Regions from separate parts of the Homo sapiens genome. Here region 1 is linked to region 2. The links are contacts of gene promoters, found by promoter capture Hi-C in blood cells and fetal thymus (Javierre and others, 2016). All regions are on one chromosome and are shown on one strand. The core of a region is centred on a gene start or on the middle of the fragment in contact, and the rest is flanking DNA. Distances in the headings are between cores, read along the strand shown. Region 1 overlaps GRIP1 (glutamate receptor interacting protein 1). Region 2 holds the start of IRAK3 (interleukin 1 receptor associated kinase 3).

What was found. Contacts are between HindIII fragments. The CHiCAGO score rates a contact against its expected background, and 5 or more counts as called.
Region 1: a fragment that was not itself captured here is called in contact with the fragment with the promoter of IRAK3 in region 2 in 1 of 17 cell types (neutrophils); the score reaches 5.3 in neutrophils.

Annotation. Positions count from the first base shown.
Region 1 is chr12:66,383,620-66,389,248 of GRCh38, forward strand. The region is part of intron 19 of GRIP1 (glutamate receptor interacting protein 1); the gene reads right to left. Among named protein-coding and RNA genes, the nearest start is that of HELB, 84 kb to the left of the region's middle. The HindIII fragment of the contact is 3,914 bases long and covers 1,417-5,330 here.
Region 2 is chr12:66,184,602-66,190,482 of GRCh38, forward strand. IRAK3 (interleukin 1 receptor associated kinase 3) reads left to right here and starts at 4,613. Exons shown (of 12, transcript NM_007199.3): 1 at 4,613-4,831. The coding sequence starts at 4,699. RefSeq lists silencers at 4,718-4,767, 4,788-4,947. The HindIII fragment of the contact is 2,960 bases long and covers 4,277-5,881 here.

The DNA of each region.
Region 1 (5,629 bases), core at 2,124-4,623, 200 kb after region 2:
TAAGCAAGCCTGGGTCACAATCTTGGGGCTCTCTGAGCTTGATGGAGGCAAGAAAAGGCATGACTAGGCAGTTGGATAACCATGGCAGACTACCTGTTGCTCATCAGAACATTCATTCTCTTCTTCGTCCTTAGTACCAGAATACCAGTTTCGGGGTGAGCAAATTATTGCTCAGACTAAAACTATACTTCTTAGCTTCTCTCAAAGCTAAGTGCAACTTAGTGAAATGTTCTGGTCAATGACGTAGCTAAGGGGACTTCTGAGAAGGCTCCTTACATCTTTGCTACTGCTGTCTGGAATGCAAATGAAATTGCTGGAGCCCCAGTAACTGTCTTGGACTATGAGGTGACCCCAAGGATGAAAGTCAAGTGCTAAGCAAAACAGAGCCGAAATATTTAGAAGCATGGGCCTCTGATGACACTGTGGAGTTACATACCAGCTCGAAGTGCCTGTTTCTTTATAATGTAAGTCAATGTATTATTAGAGTTTTCAGTTCTCTTCAGCTGAACCTAATCTCATTGATTGGTAACCAGTTCAGTTATGGTTTGCTGTGTAGATCTGACTTGCGTCTTATTTAAATTTAAATGTCTAGACTTGGGTTGAGGGTAGGAAAATAATTATCCTGATTCTGGCTGCAGGACCAATCCAGCTTTTTCTAGCAAAAAAATAAAATGAAATGCTGATATTTTAATCCATAGCTGACTCTCATTTCTATTTCTCAATGGATTTGAAACCGATTAAGAGGTTAATTAACATATCAAAATACCTAGTGTTATCAAGATACCAAAATGCAAAGCTTGCTTAGAGAATTGTGAGATATTCCGGGTATGTGTACTAAAAGGTACTGCAAGGAAGTGTCAGCAGATGGACTGACAAAGTATTTGGGGACTAGATTACAAAGAACCCTGTGTTTTAAACTGAAGACCTTTGACTTTATCCTATAACAATAGATAACCATCAAAAGAGGGTTTTTTTGGTTTAAGGGAGTGGCATGACTAGATTTGGTTTTGCTAAAGATTATAGATAGAAATGTGGGAAAAGATGCTCAAAGTAAGAAGATAAGTGAGGAAGGAGTTACCATATTTCATCAGGCCTGAAACAAAGGCAGTGGCAATGGAGGGACATCAGAGATGCTAAGTGAGTAGAGGGAGTGAGATACCTGGGTCCTGATGACACCATGGGAAAAATAAATCCTGATGTTGCTTAAATGCCATCACTTAAATTTTGTTTCGTATGTAGAAGAAAATCTTCAAATCAGCTAAACTTGACCTTTAACTGATACAGCTGGCTGGTGATACCATGATTTAAAAGAGGGAATATCTGAGGAAAATTATGTTTAGGTAAAAGGCAAACCTGTTGCCATTACTGATAAAAAGTTAACAGGCTCTGAGGAATATTCCTTTACACCAGGAGTCAAGCTTAAAAGCCAGGGAATAAATGAGGCAGCCCAGGCGTAAGAAAAAATCAACTGCCAGATAGATAATGAAATTTTTTTTGTTGTTGAATGATGGTGTAAGCACATGAAATACACATATAATATTGGAAACTACATTTTAAATTAAAAATTGATAAAATAAATAAGTTGAAAAAAGAAATAATGTTTTTTAAATGTACTGGCCAGGCACGGTGGCTCAGGCAGGGCACGGTAGCTCATGCCTGCAATCCCAGCACTTTGGGAGGCTGAGGCGGGCAGATCACCTGAGGTTAGGAGTTCAAGACCAGCCTGGACAACATGGCGAAACACCATCTCTACTAAAAACATAAAAATTAGCTGGGCGTGGTGGTGGGCACCTGTAGTCCCAGCTACTTGGGAGGCTGAGATAGGAGAGTCACTTGAACCTGGGAGGCAGAGGTTGCAGTGAGCCAAGATCGCAACATTGTACTCCAGCCTGGGTGATAAAAGCAAAACTCGGTCTCAAAAAATAAAATAATAAAAAATAAATAAAATGTATGGTCCTAAGTCATTTCTCCTTTGGATTATTTATTTATTTATTTATTTATTTATTTAGACACAGAATCTCACTCTATCGCCCAGGCTGGAGTGCAGCAGCATGACCTTGGCTCACTGTAACCTCCACTTCCCAGGTTCAAGCAATTCTCCTGCCTCAGCTTCCTGAGTAGCTGGGATTACAGACACACACCACCACACCCAGCTAATTTTTGAATTTTTAGTAGAGACAGGGTTTCACCATGTTGGCCAGGCTGATTTCGAACTCCTGACTTCAAGTGATTGCCTGCCTTGGCCTCCCAAAGTGCTGGGATTACAGATGTGGGCCTGCATGCCTGGCCTCCTTTGGTTTAGAATTGGCAACTTTTTCTTCTTTCCTTCTTTATTTTACATCTGGGTTTCCATATCTGATCTTATACTTTGTATCCTAATAGGAGGTATAAAATTTAGTCCAGATTCCTTTCACTGATATTAATGTTTAGTTTTATTTATTTGCATAATGGAAAACAGGTCTTCATAAAAAATAGGTCTTTATTTGCACAAGTGGAAAACAGCAAAGTAGGTATTTCTGAAAGTAGATGGAATCTTGATAGGATGATTTTTATTTTTAGGGTAACTATGCCTTAGATATTTGTAAAATTCTAACATTCCAACCTTGTAATATTTGGTTTTCTGTACTAATACAGATTAATATTTGTAGCTTTTAATTCATACCCAGCATTAATTTAGAAAAGTGAACTAATCAGTGTGGGTTCATATTCATAAAGTTTAGAATTCAATTTTCGGCCGGGCGCTGTGGCTCACGCCTGTAATCCCAGCACTTTGGGAGGCCGAGGCAGGTGGATCGCGAGGTCAGGAAGATCAACACCATCCTGGCTAACACAGTGAAACCCCATCTCTACTAAAAATACAAAAAATTAGCTGGTCGTGGTGGTGGGCGCCTGTAGTCCCAGCTACTCGGGAGGCTGAGGCAGGAGAATGGCATGAACCCGGGAGGCGGAGCTTACAGTGAGCTGAGATCGCACCACTGCACTCCAGCCTGGGTGACAGAGCGAGCCTCCGTCTCAAAAAACAAAAAAAGAAAAAAAAATAGAATTCAATTTTCATCTCAACAATTTTGGGACTGTAGCTCTTGCCATTACTTTCATTCTTGGAAACCAATTTTAGTACAGGAAAGAGAGCCAGTTAATTCGCTGCCAAATTTGTTTTCTAAAGACCCAGTTTTGTGAAGGATGAGAAAATCAAATCATATGTTTGTGTAACTATTTGTAATTGATCTTGCCAAGAAATATTCAAAGTATTCAGATGAGGCTGTGATCTAAATGTCAATGCAAAGACAGTTCTCTCTTCTCTCAGAAATCACCTCAAGACAAAAAGTAATGATAAATAACAGAATGCAACCTCCATCTTAATCACAACTAGAGTGTTCATGTAATCTCAGACCATAATACATAAGAAAATACATAATACATAAATCCAGTGGAAGTCAAATGGGAAGGGGGTGGTGGTGGTAAGAAGTGGAGAGAAGACACCTATGGCCAGGACTACCAAACTACTCTTTGGTAGACAACTCAGTCTACCAAAGCAGGGGCGGTGGCATGAGGCAAAACTCCAATGCTTTGTTTGGAACACCAGTATGCACTGCATGGCTGGTGGCAGAAAGTACATGTGATCCCATCTGGCATCAAGGTAAAGTCAGGGAAAGAGAACACATGTCACAGACTGAAGGGAGCAATTGCTCAATGAGGCAGGATAGCAGAGAGGAATTCTGTTTTGTGAGCAGCCTGCTGTTGCTGCTCTCTGGTAGCTGGGGAAGAATTTACTCACACATACCATGCTGGAACTGGGGTGTGTTTGGTACCTTGGAAACAGAGCCTCTAGCAGCTTCCAGTTCAGGAAGAACTCATCTCATTCAGTGGTGAGCAGTAATTGAAAAGGAATTGGCATAACATGTATACCAAGTAAATATCAGACAAATGAGAGCAAAGGCATAGAAAAACAAAGCGATAGCAGATGAAGAATACTCATGAGAAAAAGCCTGGTTCAGAGCAAATGATAAACATGACCAATCAGAAATAATCACAAAATTTAAAAAATACACAGCAAAGCCATCACCTCTATAAAACAAGAGATCAAAGCAGAAATATAAGAACTCTAGAGAAATTGGGCAAGGCAAGATGATGATGAAACATGAGCTTGTAGAGATCAGAAGAGAAACGAAAGAGAAAAATAAAATCCTGCTAATGAGTAGAGGAGGATACCATTGGGTTTCTACTCTGTGCTATCCTCTGTATGATTTGTATTCTTTAATGACATTAAATAAAGTTGGACTCTGACTGCACATGTTGGTGTCCTTTCAGTTATCATCCTTATGAAAACACAAAGAAGGAATATATCCTTATAAAGCAATGAAAATAAATAAATCATGCATCCAACTTAAGTCATAAAAGGAATAAAATTTAAAAGGAACTGAATGAAAGAGTAAAATTAAAAGTAAAATTGTACGTAAAAAAAAAAACTAGAGTAAAACTAATAAATAAATGCAAGAGTCAGTTCTCTGGGAAAAAATAAAAACCAAACAAAGAAATCAAATAAACTGTTACTAATCGAATCATGGGGAAAATAATAAAACCACAAATATACCAATTAAGGAACAATATTATGGATATAATTATAGAAACTGAGAAAATAAAAAATTAAAAAAGAGATTAATTATATAAAATACATTTGACATCTGGATGAAATAATTTCATTTTCTGAGAGAAAACAAATGATCAAAATGACCTCAAAAGGGAGAAAAATAAGATAGAAATATAGCTATCTGAGTTGAGAGTCCAAAGTTACAGAGAGCACAAGAGCTATTCAGCCCGCGAGCATGGCAGTCTATGTACCACCACCAATTTGCCAGTCTCCTCTTGTATTGACCTTTGCTAAATCCAAGTAAAGCAGTCATAGGGTTTTCTCAGAGTTAGAAGGAAGAATTAATAAGATGCAAGGAGGCCAAATGCCTAAGATTTTGATAAGGCAGAAGGGCATGAGGCATCTAATGGGCAAGACAATGGGGAGTGAAAGAAGCTGACCTGGAGGCCAACTGGAAGAAGTCAGCCACACAGTGGAACTGAGAATCAGCCCCTTGTGGGACTTCCTTAAACATATCCCTTCTTTCCCCACAAGGTTTCGTCATTCCATTCTATTTCCCTTTTCACTAACGAAGTGATAGGGCCACTGTTTGTTTATTTGTTAACTGACTGTCCCTTCAGCTGGGTAACCTCTTCCATGGGAGCAGAGACCATGTCTCCTTTGTCCAAGAGTGTATCCACATGGTCTATGGGCCTGATATTGAGCCAGTCATTACATACTGGTTGAAGGAATGAATGGAGCAAGCTTGATATTTTAGAGAAGAAGGAGAGAACAGTAAGGAATGTTGCTGCAAAGACATCGATTTCCAGCCCCAGGAGGAAGATGTGCATTATGGAGTCTCCTGGGAACAAGGCAACTATTACAGCCTTAAAGGGAACAGAGAGAATGTGCAGGGGCTTCCTGGAACAAGGCAGAGAGCCTGCTGAGAGGCTGGAGGGACAGGTTGGAGAGATAAGCTGTATCTCACAACATAATATTGAATAGGAAAAATAAAAGTGTGGTTCTATGCCTTGCTTTTATTTTTGTTTTAATTTTTTTTGA
Region 2 (5,881 bases), core at 3,363-5,862:
ATTGAGTCCTGGGGTGCTCCAACATTTAGAGTTCAGGGAGAAGAGGAGGAACAGCAAAGGAAGCTGTGGGGTGATCAATGAGGTAAGTGAAAAATATAAGAGAATGTGGTGTCCTAGAAGTCAAATGAAGAAAGTTTCCAAGGAGGGGGTGATCAACTGTATCAAAACTACCAATAGGTCAAGTAAGTGAGGACTGGAAATTAATTATTTTACGTAGCAATGATGTGGACATGTGTGACCCTGAAGAGAATAGTTTTAGTGGAGTAAAGTGGGAGGGGTGCTTCTAATTAGAGTTGGTTTAAGAGAAGATGGGAGGAGAACATTGGACACAGTGAGAATATTCAGCTCGACACTGCAAAGGGGAGCAAAGAATTGGGGCCAAAGACAGAAGGGGGAAGTGGCATCAAAAATTTTGGTTTGCATGGAATACTATGCAGCCATAAAAAATGATGAGTTCATGTCCTTTGTAGGGACATGGATGAAACTGGAAACCATTATTCTCAGCAAACTATCGCAAGGACAAAAAACCAAACACCACGTGTTCTCACTCATAGGTGGGAATTGAACAATGAGAACACATGGACACAGGAAGGGGAACATCACACACCAGGGCCTGTTGTGGGGTGGGGGGAGTGGGGAGAGATAGCATTAGGAGATATACCTAATGCTAAATGATGAGTTAATGGGTGCAGCACACCAACATGGCACATGTATATGTATGTAACAAACCTGCACGTTGTGCACATGTACCCTAAAACTTAAAGTATAATAATAATAAAATTTAAAAAAATTTTGGTTTAAGTTGAAAGAAACAACATCATATTTGTATGCTGATGGAATTGAGGTGGTAAAGAGTGAAAAACTGATCATGTAACAGGGACCAGGGAAAGCATGTGCCCTTGATGCCTTTGAAATGGTAATAGGGATAGGATCCAGTGCACAAACGAAGTATAATGATTTACATAGGACCCTAGATAATTCATCCATGGAAAACACGAAGAAAGAGTATGTTGGCAAAGATGCTAGTAGATAGTTCGATGTAGTAGTGAGATTCCGTGGAAGTTTTTTCCTGATGCATCAGTATTCTCAATAAATATTCTCAAGATAATTGGTGGAGGACAGGATGATGGGAGTTGAGAAAAAAGAAAGTATAGCATAGCTTTCAAGGAGACCAGAAGAATGCATGGGCTAAAGGTGCATAGTATGCTTGTCCAGTGGCATAAAGGACCCACTTGAGAGTCTTGGCCTTGATTTTAAATTGAGTTCAATTAACAGGATTTTGGTTTTCCACCCCGTTCCCCAGCTACACTCAGGTGCATGGGTGTGGAGCCAACTTAGAAAATTGGATTTAATCAGAATTGCAAACTTGCCAAGAGAGCTCAACAAAGTGAGAGAGGAGCAAGGGAATGTAGAGCATATGCAAAGGAGTGAATAAAATAATTGACCACAGACTTAATGGATAAGCAGAAAAGTCAGGATGTCAAGAGGGTGGAGCCAGAAAAGAGGCAGCAAGATTTTGGATTGGATATCTGGTGAAGGGACAGGATTGTTGGGGTCAGAGTACTAGAGGGAATGTGCTAGAAAGACAGGAGGTATGATCAGAGAGTGGATTCATGAAAGAAATTATAGATGGGATGCAGCTATTGATAATGACAAATTCTAGGGGACGCTCATGGGAGTAAGTGTCTGAAATGGAGCATTGGGTGGAGTACAATGTCACCAGAGAAGAGGAGTCAAGGAAATGAGAGGCCAGGGCATTGGAAAGATCACCATCTATTCTACATATATATATATATATATGTGTGTGTGTGTGTGTGTGTGTGTGTATGTTTTAATTTTGTTTCATCAACTTTTATTTTAAGTTCTAGGGTACATGTGCAGGATGTGCAGTTTGTTACATAGGTAAATATGTGCCATTGTGGTTTGCTGCACAGATGATCCCACCACCTAGGTATTAAGCCCAGCATCTATTAGCTATTGCTTCTGATTCACTGCCTCCCCCTACCCCCTCCCCTGACAGGCCCCAGTATGCATTGTTCCCCACCAAGTGTCCATGTGTTCTCATGGTTCAGCTCCCACTTATAAGTGAGAACATGCAGTATTTGATTTTCTGTTCCTGTGTTAGTTTGCTGAGGATAATGGCCTCCAGCTCTATCCCTATCCCTGCAAAGGACATGATCTCATTCCTTTTTATGGCTGCATAGTATTCCATGGTGTATACATACCACGTTTTCTTTATCCAGTCTATCATTGATGGGCATTTGGCTTGATTCCATGTCTTTGCTATTGTGAATAGTTATTCTACATATATTTTAAATCACTGAGAACTAAGATAGGATTAGTACTGGAGAGAGCAACAATGAGCCAGGAGCTAGAGAGTCTAAAAACGAGGAGAAGGAATTGGAGTCGGGGAGATCAGCAGTTGATAGCAACCATGATGATACAACCTGATGATATAAAAATCAAAACTCAAGACAGTTTTAGGAATAGGAAGGCAACATGGTCTGAGAACGACTGCCAACACTGAAAATACAGGAAATTTCACATACTCTAGCTTTCACTTAGGATCCTTGCTTCTTGGTAAATTACAAGATCTGGTAAAGCAGGCCTTTCTGATTGCTTCCCTCATCTGCAGTGATTTCCTGTTTCCTCTGAGTGAGTTTGCCTCCCTGTAGTAGCAATTCAAAAGCTACCAAATAATTAATGGCCTTTTGCCTCTGTTGCTCAGCATGTTCAGGTAGTCCCTTTAAGAGATGTATAGAGGGCCGGGTGTGGTGGCTCATGCCTGTAATCCCAGAACCTTGGGAGGCCTAGGGAGGTGGATCACTTGAGCCCAGGAGTTTGAGACCAGATTGAGCAACATGGGAAAACCCCGTCTCTACAAAAACTACAAAGGTTAGCCAGGCATGGTGGCATGCACCTGTAGTCCCAGCTGTACTGGAGGCTGAGGTGGGAGGATGGCTTGAGCCCAGGGGGTGGAAGTTGCAGTGAGCCGAGATCGCACCATTGCACCCCAACCTGGGCAATCAGAGCGACTAAAAAAAACAAATAAGAAAGAAAGGAGGGAAGGAAGGAAGAAAGGAGGGAAGGAAGGAAGGAAGGAAGGAAGGTAGGTAGGTGTACAGTGTGTACAGATTGACAATAAAACCTTGAACAACGGGATATCGAAATTCTTGCCCACACAGTATGGGCTTTGCCAGTTTTCAGATACATTTTTATGAAGTATTTTCGCTGGCAAAACCATTCAGGTAGGGGCATGAAATGATAGTGTTTCATCACTCGTGATCTCTAGGGGCAGCTATTCCAAAGACTACAATCTGAGAGGTTTCAAAACACCTCTGGTGTTTTCACTTGATGGCCACTGCCCACTCTTCCAGTCACTAAGGCTGAGATTTTTCTCACCACTTTCAAAACAACTTTTTGTCACTGGTAACATGCCTCATGTGACCTAGAAGATTTTGAAACAACAATTTTACTTAAACTCCGTGAAGATTTCAAAACAACAATTTTACTTAAACTCCATGTTGAAGGCAAAAAGGAAGATTGTGTGAAGCACTTTGAGGAAGGAAAAAATGATGGAACGATATTTCATCAAGGAAGCCCATGAGGAAGAAAATTTATTAAAACCAAGTAGGTGTATGGAGGAGAGGCCGCCTCGTGAAGAAAACGAACATAATTTTACGCTGATTTGGTGTCTTTTCTGTTTTTCTCTTGTTGGTATCTACATTCATCTTTTCCAATAATAATCCCATATATGTACATTTTTATCTGTTTAAATTCAGTAAAAGTTGGGAGGAAAATGTGTCAAAACTTTTAGAGTGTGATGGGCTGAGTGGGGTTGTGAGTGATTATCTTCTTTTTTCAGTTTTTTTCTGGGTTTTCCAAGTGTTCCTCGATGAACATGGATAGTTTTTCTGACAGGATAAAAAAGAAGTAGTCCGGGACAGTGGCTAACACCCCGAATCCCAGCACTTTGGGAAGCCGGAGGTGGGAGGATCGCTTGAGGCCAGGAGTTTGAAACCAGCCTGGGCAGCATAACGACACTCCCTCTCTACGAAAAACGAAAAAAAATAATTAGCCGGACGTGGTGGCGTGCGACTGTGGTCCCAGCTACTCGGGAGGCTGAGGTGGGAGGATCGCTTGAGCCCAATAGGTGGAGGCTCCGTGAGCTGAGATAGCGCCACTGCGCTCCTGCCTGGGCGACAGAGTGAGAACCTGACTCAAAACAAAGAAAAAAGGAAGAAAAGAAAGGAAGGGAAGAAGGAAGGAAGGGAGAAGCTTTCAAAAATAAACTTTTGTAAGAAGTAATGACACCGCTAGCCGTCCACACCAGGAGACCGCCTAGCCGTGGGGCACGGTGGGCTCCTGGGAGCTCTGAGCTCTGGGCTTTCTCCAGTTCGCACTCTGCTTGTCTCGGCAGCTCCGTCCCCACCGCAGAGGTGTGAAGGGGCGCAAAGCCAGCGAAGGGAGAACCCGGGTCGGGTAACCCCCAGGCCTGGCCAGGCGGACGCAGGGGCATCTCGGGCGAGGCGCGCCTTGCGTCACGTGGGCACCGCCCCTGCAGTGACCGGAGAACGGCGTGTTCCTAGGGCTCTGCTGCCGTCGTGGAAGCAGGATTTCCGCGGTTGTGTAACGGCCTGTCGCAGGCGTGCAGGGACCTGGACTCCGCCTCGTCCCCGGGGCTCGGGCAGCCGAGCCATGGCGGGGAACTGTGGGGCCCGCGGCGCGCTGTCGGCGCACACGCTGCTGTTCGACCTGCCGCCCGCGCTGCTCGGAGAGCTCTGCGCTGTTCTGGACAGCTGCGACGGCGCGCTGGGCTGGCGCGGCCTGGGTGAGTCGGCGGGGACCGGCCGGGGGCGGCGGGGGAGCCCAGCGCGCCGCGGGGCCCGCTCGGCGTCGCCCTGCATGGCTGGGGTCCCTCGCGGGGCTGGCGCGGCCTCCGGGAAGTTCCCGCCAGGGAGCCGGCCCCCTCCTTTCCTGGGTTGGATGCAGAGACTCCCTGGGACCCAGATGCCTTCCCTCCCTTCTCTTTCAAAGAATTTTGGGTATCGCTGCAAAGTCAAGGGAGCCGAGGCCTGGGAAAGACAGATAACCAGCGTGAAAGCATCTTCTGTTCGTCCGCGATGCCACCCTCACTGGGTTCGCAATGTATGATGTCTTCTGGTCCTTGCAAAATCACCCCAGAACATCATTTTAGTATTGAGACATTTTTAGAACTTTGAGATACTTATCCTTTGGTGTTTTCAATGCATCCCTAAGCCCCTAACTTAATTACAAGTGAAATGCTAAAGTAAACTACGGTTTGCAATGAACGCGGCTCCTAATTTTCTTAATTAAATCTTATTTACCCAATTTCGTTGAATGAAGGTTTATGCTAAAGGGTGGCTTTTTATTTTAATCTAAAAAAATTGGCTTCAGAACTGTATTTTATGCAGACATTGGAAAGTTGAGCAACTGCCTGCTGGAAGTGTTGAGTGTAGCCAGAGATAATTCGGACAAAAATCTTCGTTTTGTTAAGTACAGGCATTTTTGGTTAGATTTGATATTCCACAATGTCATGTTTAATGTTTATTGAAAAGAATCATGATTATGTCAAAATAACTTAGCTTTAATGGTCTGAAATAGGATTTTTCTTACCAGGACTAGCAGAAGGCCTAAGAGGAGAGTTTTCTTTGTTACTGATGAACAGTATGGTGACAGTCTTTGAATTGTAGCAATGGGCTTCTGGTTATACAAAAAATGTTTATATATTTTAAGCTCTGTAATTTTAAGTTATGGCCCTTAAGAAAAAAAAAAAAGTCTGATTTCTAGAAAACGAGATTTCCAGTGTGCATTTGAGGGATTTTGAGGGATAAGGTCACTTCCCCATCAGATCTTTTTG